Linked DNA regions of Homo sapiens: region 1 is linked to region 2. Evidence: promoter capture Hi-C in human tissues and cell types (Jung and others, 2019). All regions are on one chromosome and are shown on one strand. Each heading gives the region's core, a stretch centred on a gene start or on the middle of the fragment in contact. The rest is flanking DNA. Distances are from core to core; before and after follow the strand shown.

What was found. The method cuts DNA at HindIII sites, captures the fragments that hold promoters and counts their contacts. A contact is called where the count stands out against the background at its distance.
Region 1: a fragment that was not itself captured here is called in contact with the fragment with the promoter of LMOD1 in region 2 in 3 of the 25 tissues and cell types used here (IMR-90 fibroblasts, bladder and hippocampus).

Annotation. Positions count from the first base shown.
Region 1 is chr1:201,846,671-201,851,514 of GRCh38, forward strand. It overlaps IPO9 (importin 9), which reads left to right. Exons shown (of 24, transcript NM_018085.5): 2 at 609-670; 3 at 882-968; 4 at 1,723-1,924. Among named protein-coding and RNA genes, the nearest start is that of MIR6739, 14 kb to the right of the region's middle. The HindIII fragment of the contact is 5,341 bases long and covers 1-4,844 here.
Region 2 is chr1:201,944,221-201,948,717 of GRCh38, forward strand. LMOD1 (leiomodin 1) reads right to left here and starts at 2,328. Exons shown (of 3, transcript NM_012134.3): 1 at 1,860-2,328. The coding sequence starts at 2,120. The HindIII fragment of the contact is 9,839 bases long and covers 1-4,497 here.

The sequences.
Region 1 (4,844 bases), core at 1,395-3,894, 97 kb before region 2:
CCTGTTTTGCTTTTTTGAGATAGAGTTTTGCTCTTGTCTCCCAGGCTGGAGTACAATGGTGCGATCTCAGCTCACTGCAACCTCGTCCTCCTGGGTTCAAGCGATTCTCCTGCCTCTGCCTCCCGAGTAGCTGGGATTACAGCCATGCATCACCAAGCCTGGCTAATTTTGTATTTTTAGTAGAGATGGGGTTTCACCATGTTGGCCAAGGTGATCTCAAACTCCTGACCTCAAGTGATCCACCCACCTCGACCTCCCAAAGTGCTGGGATTACAGGCGTGAGCCACCACGCCAGGCTCCATGTTTCAATTACCACATTAATTGGTCTAAGAGGAAGGTGTTGTCATCTTGGAAGAGAAGATGGCTGGAAGGTGCTATGCAGTGACTGGAAAAAGTGTAAGGGTGTTGAAACTTCATTGTAACAAGGCATGTCCTGCAAGCCAACTTGTTTCTTTTACTTGGAGGAATCAGTCTTAGCAGTTATCAGCTCTTTTTGAAACAACAGATTAAGTTTCTTTCTGGAATCTTGTTGGCATCAGGGTTAGAGCTTAGTAAATTTCTATGGCTTTCCTAGGTACTCTTAGACTCAATAAAATTTTCTCTTTCAGAATTTGGTGTTCACTTGGCAGAACTGACTGTAGATCCCCAGGGGGCACTGGCAATCCGTCAGGTAAGTCCAGACTGGCCCAATTTATAAATAGTTTCCCTTTCCTTGGTAATGAAACTTTCTTATAGGAAAGAAAAATAAGGCCAGTGTATAAATAACCTAGGATGTTGTGCCAGATTTAGATATACTTCAGATGTATCAGGCTATGTATATAGTTTTTATGTGTGAAAAAAATCTTTTTCTTGCTGTACTACTTGGCTTATTCTCTTCACAGCTGGCATCAGTCATCTTGAAACAATATGTGGAGACTCACTGGTGTGCCCAATCAGAGAAATTTAGGCCTCCTGAAACTACAGAAAGGGTAAGTCAGTTACTTGATTAGTCTACCTGAGGAGATTTGAGGGTCCATTTTAAGAGATTAGACTATAACATTCTTTGACAGCATGGAGCAATCAAAAGACTAGGCAGAAAAGGAGATTGGTGGCTGGCATTGCGGGCATAGGGCTATACATTAAAGAGCTCAAGTATCAGGCTGGTCTGTGTTCAAATTCCAGTTTTGCTTTTTACAAGCTATGAGATCATTGGAAATGTAGTTAACACCTAAGCCTCAATTTCCTAAATCTCCAAAGTGAGAATAAAAATACCAACTAAGGGTTTAAGAATTAAATGAAATAACATTTGTACTTAGTGCAGTACTGTGCAGTCATCCTGAGTCCCCAAGAAATTTTGAGGTATAAGGTCTGGAGGAATGTTTTCCACTGGAGCTTTATGCAATTATGGAAATATTCTGTGTCTGTGCTGCCTAAAACAATAGCTACTAGCTGCATATGGCTGTTGAGCACTTAAAATGGGGCTAGTGCAACTGAGGAACTGAATTTTAAATTTTTTAAAATGTTAATAGCTATGTATAGCTAGTGGCTACTGTAATGGACTGCATAAGTTTAGAGATCACAGATGAACCCTCCAAATGAATTGTCAAGTTTGTGTATAGGAGTTTTCTGTAGACATGCAGTACCTTGTACTCATTGTTTTTCCAACACAGTTCCCAATTGAACTGGGCTCTGCCAGTCACTTTTAACCTGATCTAATAGCAGGTGGACTTTTATCCCTTACAGGCAAAAATTGTTATCCGGGAGCTATTGCCTAATGGGTTGAGAGAATCGATAAGCAAAGTGCGCTCCAGTGTGGCCTATGCAGTGTCAGCCATTGCCCACTGGGACTGGCCTGAAGCTTGGCCCCAACTCTTCAACCTGCTCATGGAGATGTTGGTGAGCGGAGACTTAAATGCCGTCCATGGAGCCATGCGTGTGCTGACAGGTACCAGAAGCCCTTTTCCCTGGTATTGGTACTTGGATCTCAAGCGACAGGAGTATTACCAGAAGCTATGTGATATAATGGCCTGGACCAGTAGGAATTGCTGCTGATGTTATTCCTCCCTCCTAGTTTTTATCTCTCCATCTACCCTCCAGCTCTATTGTTTTTTTCTAGGGAATTAAGTTTGTATAGTATTACTTCTACTCCCAAACCTACCACTTACAGATACAGTATTAGCATAGTGATGGAGTATTCAGATTTTGGATTTTTGTAGTGGCTTCACCTTGATCCTTCACTTACCTTCTTTGAGCCTGAGTTTCCTTTTATATAAAATTAAGATGATAGTAGTGTCTGCATCAAAGGAGCTTTTGGTATAGTTTAAATGTTAGCTAATCTATCTTTATTGACTTGTTCAGTAAAGTTTAGTTACTATGATTATCATTATTACTATATATTATTTGTCCACTTAGTTCAACCAAGGCAAAGTTAAGAATTGTAAAATGGATTTTTATAGAAGTATTTAAAAAGAAGATAAAAACAGTATAGCCATGTAATCCTGACCTTCATTTAGCCAGTTAGAGAATATGTAGTCTCAGTATCTTTTCCTTCTCTCTGTTCTGAGAAGTTGATAAAAATACTTCAACTTTTAGTTCAAAGAGATTTGATGGATATCTCTTCTAAACCTGATTAAGCTATCAATCCCTCCCAGAATCTGCTTTCATATATCCTTAGGGATGGCCTGAGTTTCCCAGTCCTTTGCAAGTTCCTCCCTGCTTCTTATTCCCTAAATGAAGTCACTACTCTGTTTTGCCTTCAAGAAATTCTTACCTGGACTTTAGTCATCCTGTACTGATCCTTTAGAAATCATCTTTCTCCTTTGTTCATATAGGTTTGTAGAAGTCCCACCAATATCTTATCTCTTTTTCTATGACCTGCTAGCTTACCTGATATGTATTCTTGCTTAGTTGTGAATGCCAATTCTATTCTTTCTCAATCTCAGTTTACTGAACTTGGCACATAGGCCCAATTTTGCTAGTCCATGTGATGTTAATGGTAGATAATATCAACTCTTTGTCAAATGCAAATCTTTCTTCTCCTTTTGTTTCAAAATGACCTCTTCTCAGACCCCAGCTGCCTTTTTGAATTACCCACTATATTCGTATTGATTGCCTGTGACAAAGCTTCAGTTTTTAGCTCAGATACCGAACAGACTTACCAAAAAGATCAGAATGTTCCTTGCTCAGATTTTGACTTCTCTGCTTATTGCCCTTTCTTCTGCTTAATGACTCATTCATTATTCAGGTGATTTCACACACCCCTCTGCATGGAATTGGCCTTTTAGGATTCTTTATTCACCACTTCATAGTGCCAGGATATCAATTAACAGATACATGTTCTACCAAGGAAAGGAAGCCTGTTCCCTCTCAGTCTTCCAAGATGAAATTCAGGTTCTTTTGACAAACCTAGAGAGAAAGGTTTTGTACATTTATCTTGATTTGGATGCTGAAGAGCTCTTATTGTGTTTGACTAAGGAAATTACTGTTCAGTGAGATCACTTTTCTGCCAGCCACAGGGAAAGAACTGTTGGGGGAAATTTGTCTCCTTTTGTAATGGAGTCACCAGACATGGAGTGGCTAGCAGCCAAGCCCCATTCCCAAATACTTGCTCCAAATATTTTCAAACGAGAGTAGACTGTACTCTGACAACAAAAACTTAGGCATGCATGAAGATAGCAGGACATTGGTGGTTGGACAGAGGCCCATTAGGAGAATGGGACTGATTCTTTTCAGAGTTTTTCAAGATACTATACCAGTTTCCCTTTAATGAGGCTTCCTATTAAACTTATCTATTTATAGATGAGAACCAACTAAGGCTCATGGTGTAAAGGAAATGCAAATATAGCAGCTAAGGATTAGAAGATTTGATCCACCAGATACAGCTTTTTCTTCGTTCTCAAAGAAGTTTGGAGATTGAGATGTTGCTGGAGTCCTAGAATTTTTCTGACTTGCTGAATCACCTCAGAAAACTTTTGGAATTAAACCTATAAAGTATTAATAAATTGATACCAGGGATGAGTATAGGAGAGTAAAAAGCAGTCAAGCACTTTATTAGCAGAATTAAATTATACTGTATTTTTCATAAAACTTGTTATTATGCCATCTATCATATTTGTTTGGACTAATTTCCTTGAATTTCTAAATAAAATAGAACACTCACCATTCAAAGCTCAGACTTTATCCTTGAGGAGGAAATTACAGCTGTAAAGAAAATTCAACCTTGAGTATTTGATCTTCATTTGACTCGTGGGGATTGATATTGTTCAAAATTGTGGAGTACCTTAATCTTGAAAATGCCAGCTTGCGTTTGTAGCTGTGTATCTTCCCCCAAAATGTCCCAAGTGGTTAGCTTTATTTTTAGTTTTATTTATTTATTTATTTATTTGAGACATGGTCTCACTCTGTCACCCAGGCTCAGGTACAGTGGCACTGTTGTAGCTCACTGTAACCTTGACCTCCTGGGCTCAAGCGAGCCTCCTGCCTCAGCATCCTAAGTAGCTGGGACTGCAGACACATGCCACCACATGCAGCTTTTTTTTTTTTTTTTTTAAATGTACTGGCAGATCTTGCTATGTTCAAGCTGGTCTTGAACTCCTGGCCTCAAGTGATCCTCCTGCCTCAACCTCCCAAAGCTCTGGGATTACAGGTATAAGCCACTGTTCCCGGCCCATATGTCCATTTCTATAGTGATAACGTGGAAAAGCATCAGGTAAAGTGGATAGTTACTGGAACTCAAGAGCTTTATTCTGCTGCTTTGTAACATGAATCCAGGGTCCTTTGTGCTGTCTCAGTGCCTTGTGTGTGGTGTATTTGGTTTTTTTTTTTTTGAGACGTGAAGGGAAAGATACGACCCATATTTCCGTCAC
Region 2 (4,497 bases), core at 1,078-3,577:
GGACCTGGCAGGGGTGAGAGAGGTGAGGCAGGGGAGGAGACACTTGTCACGGTATTAACTGGCTGAATAAAAAGTCTATGATAGTGAAATTTCCAGGAACAGGAGAATCCTTCACACTCTTGCTTGTGATTAGACTGCTTTGTTTGACTTCAGCCTCAGGAGTACCTTTCTGAGCACTGGAAGCTACCGGACACAAGGCAGTCATGGGCCCAGAGCCTGCGACTGGGAGTGGGGAAGAGCAGAGTCAACGATTTCCAAGGGTGCCAAAGCCTTTGGCTGCATTTCATTTCTTTCTGTATGATTCCTGATAGCTGTGTTGGGGTACCGGGCCCTCACAGTAAGTGCTACCACTTTTTCTGTAAATGTTTTGGTTTTATTTATCATTATCATAGCTGCATCTGGGGCAACCACCTTGTGCATACAGGACAATAAATTCCTGAGCCTCCTGGCTTCCCTCCTTCCTCCCTCCTTCTCCCTCTTCTTGGCAAAGGCTTAAACATAGGTGGTGGGGCGGGGGGGGGCGGTAGGGACAGAGACAGAGTTCCAGCTCCTCTTTGCTTCACCCCCTTCCCTCCTCCTCCCTTCTTTCCCATTGCTACACTAAAGGAGTCAGGGCTGTGTCCACCAATATGCTCTGTGACTAGCAGTCAACACAATTTCATACCCAGCCAGTCATTCCGCAGGCATTTTGGATGATAATGTTCCCATTCTCAGTTCCTCTGTGAGAATGTGCATGTCATTTGAAGCTCTGTGCCTCAGTTTCCATAGAAGTAAAACAAAAAGCAAGAATTGAGACTGATCTTTTTCTTGCAAGAATTCACAAGTAATGGATAATGTACAAGAGATGTGGCTGAATAAGAGAACTAGAACAAAGACTTGAACAATTTTCCTATGCAACACTCTTTCCCATGGACAAAGGTATCCCACAAAGTCATACTTCATCGGAGGCTAGTTTGTCCAAAGAAAACTCACATACCAATGCAATAGTGACAAAAAAAAAATTCCTCCATGCCAACTCAGGAAAACAGAAAGCAAGTTGTGCTTAAGCCCATTGTAGGTGTGGGCAGATGCTTCCAAAACCGTCACCCCTTTTCCCTCCTCTATGACTATCTTCAACCCCCAGCAAAGCGGCCTCGCCAGCTGCTAAAGGGTTAATTACCAAAAAGAGGGCATGCTCCCTCCAGAGGCTCCTCTGGAGAGTGCAAAAACAAAACAAAACCAAAAACCAACTAACCACAACAAAAAACATCTTCCCTGGGAATAAATTTGAAGCTTATCAGGTCTTTAAGCCACATTTCCCAGCCCATAGACTCCTGGTCCCTGTCTCCCTTTGCTTTGGGAAACTCATTTACCCCCAAGCCTCCTGAAATGATCCATGTGCCGTGAGATGCCCATAGGGTTGGGGACTTGAAAATGAGTTATTCTCCCACAAAAAATGGCTTAGCTTTGTCTTTTTGGGTGGCTGACAGGAGACATAAAGTATCACTCTCTCTTTTTACCCCTCCTCACAATAGGATGGAATGAGTGTGGAGAAAAACAAAGGTATTGTGGGACCAGGATGGAGTCAACTTGACAATGGACTCTTCAAGGACACCTTCCAGCTCCCATTCTACTAGTAGCTCTATTTGATTTTGTGGGATGTTGTGTTCCTCCAACATATCCGACTTCTGCTTATAAAACAGAAATTAGGAGTAAGAGATTCGCACCGCTAGTTCAGTGGATAATCATCAGTTCTGAAGCATTAAAATCCTTTGCCAACAAGAACGTTTCTTCTAAGGAAGGAAGCATCCTAATCATGAAGCCAGGGTCTCCAGCCCTCCCCTGTCTCCCTCCTCCCCTCCAGGGCTGTGCTCACTCACATCCATGGACATCTCCCTCTGCATAAGTTTCTTGGTCTCCTTTTCACAGAAGTTGAGCATGGCCTCCCGGTTGTACACACCCGTGGACTGTTTCTCCGTCTGGTTTCTCTGCCGCAGCCCCACGGGAACACTCCCGTCTGGGTCCACCACGTCCAGCTCCTTCTCCAGCTCCTCCATCTCCTCGGGAGACAGGGTCTCCAGCAGGCTGTCGATGTCGGGGTCTTCACTCACCTGCCGGCGATATTTGGCTACTCTAGACATCTTGGCAAAATGGGCTGTGGCTGCCAGGGGCTATCAGAGTCCTGGTGGGCAGGGAAGGGAGAGGGGTGAGCTGATCTGGATGCAGCGAGTGGGCTGAGGAGCAAACCTCCTGCTGGTCGAGGACTGCAGCTCCTTGGCCCTTCTGTGCTACAGGTGCTGAAGTGTTCACTGGACGCAGCAGCCTCCCTGAAGCCCAGGGCTAGTGGACCCCGGCTGGTCTAATCAGCGGCCAATAAGACCCGACAACTGCCAGGCCCGGAGAGGAGAAGCCAATCCCCAAGCTGGGGGCGGGCCTACCTCGCTGTCAGAGCTGTTTGAAACTTGAGGACATTCCAGGGAATCTTGGAGCGCTGCGTGACCAAATTTAGTACAGAGCAGTTTAGCCTTTTAAAGACAAGGGGCCACGCAATGAGAAAAAGATACAAAAATGCGTAGGCTGGCAGAAGCAGATCACAGCCACGGAGAGCCAGACAAGCAGGGACGAGGCCATGAGGGCCGGTGAACTCGCCAGCCCGGGGCACGTTCAAGAGCGTATTTTACTACTCCATCACCGGGTGGACGTATCACTGTGGTCAATGTGTGGTTCATGGACTTCCTTCTACAGTATTTGGTAATGTGCTGGGGGGCTCCCAGGTGTATACAGCTCCAGGAAAGTCTAGATTCAAGATGAGGAGCTGTTACTCCTAACCCCCTGCCTACCCATTTTCTTTCTACCCAGGTTCTGCCAAGGAGGACCTGAAGGCTGAGCATCAGAGGCTCCAGGATCCTTTGGCCACTTCTTAAGAGAGAGACAGGAGACAGAAAGACAAACTTAGAGATAGAGATAGCTAGGCAGGAGAGGGAGAGAGAGAGAGAGAGAGAGAGAGAGAGAGAGAGAGAGAGAGAATAAATCCTTACTGTGTACCAAAACTGAAAACTGGCAGGCTGTTTGGGAAAGAGAGAAGGATCTGCAGAAGTCGGGAAACTCTTAAAGGGCTGTCACTTTCCATGAAGTTCCAAGGCTCTTGGGAAGAGGGTTCAAACCTCCCCCTGTTGTCATCTGTTTCTTCCTCTGCCGGGCATCTGTAGACAGACCTCCTTTGGGAGCACAGAGGCAGGTCACCACCCACATATAAATCCAGAGCACGATTTAGTATGTCTTCAGGGAAACAGAATTCTGGGCCGTCGGGAGAGATACGATTGCAACAGGTCTGGCATGTTTCATAGAAGGGCTTTCCACTGCTCATCCATCATGCTGCCCTGCACAAGTCACAGAGACATTCAATCCCCTGCCCCCCTTCCTCCTGCCACAAAATCCCTTCTAGAAGCCCTGGTGTAACCCATCAGGGTAGATGCTTCGATCTTTCCTGGCATCTTTCCATCCTAAGCCAGAGAGAGACAGTCACTTGATCAGCATTTGCTGAGTCCAGGGATCGTCTGGGACTAAAACTTGGCCGTGCCATTTAATGTCCACTAGTCCAACTTTAGGTTAAGGCTGAAGAGGGGAATGGTGTCCACTGGGGGGACTGAAGGGCAGAAGGAAGGCAGGCAGACTTGATAGGAAGAGTGGAAGAAGACTTTAGGGAAACCTGGGGGTTGTCATTTTAAGAGTCAGTAGCCAACTTATTGGTCAAACCGTAGGTATATATTTATTGAGTGATTTATCAAGTGCCTATTATATATCAGGCATTGTTCTAAGAGCAAGAGATATCACTAAAGATACAAAATCAGGCCAGGTGCAGTGGCTCATGTCTGTAATCCCAGCACTTTGGGAGGCCAAGGCAAGAGGATTGCTTGAGTCCAGGAGTTCAAGAACAGGCTGGGCAACATAATGAGACCCCCATCTCTCCAAAAAAAAAAAAAAAACAAAATTAGCCTGATGTGGTGGTGAGCATCTGTTGTCCCAGCTACTCAGGGGGTTGAGGTGGGAGGATTGCTTGAGACCAGAAGGTTGAGGCTGCAGTGAGCTGTGATCACGCTACTGTACTCCAGCCTGGGCAACAGAGTAAGACCCCATCTCAAAAAAGAAAGAAAGAAAGAAAGAAAGAAAGAAAGAAAGAGCGAGCAAGCACAGGGGCTATGGGAAAACACAACAAGAGGAGGCTGAATAGAAGTATGATTTAACAGTGAAGAGCTTGGGCCTTTGAGGCCAATAGACCTGTATTTGGTCCTGGTATTGCTACTTACAGGCCATGTGACTTGGGCAAGCTACCTTCTTTTCTGAGACTTGAGTTCATCATCTGTAAAATAAGGACAACAGTTATACCAACCTTATACAATTGTTGTGAATATTAAATTAGGTCCTACACATGACAACATTTCATTGATATACCCAGTACATGGTAAACACCATATTTATTATTAATTATTATAATTATTTATTTATTTATTTATTGGG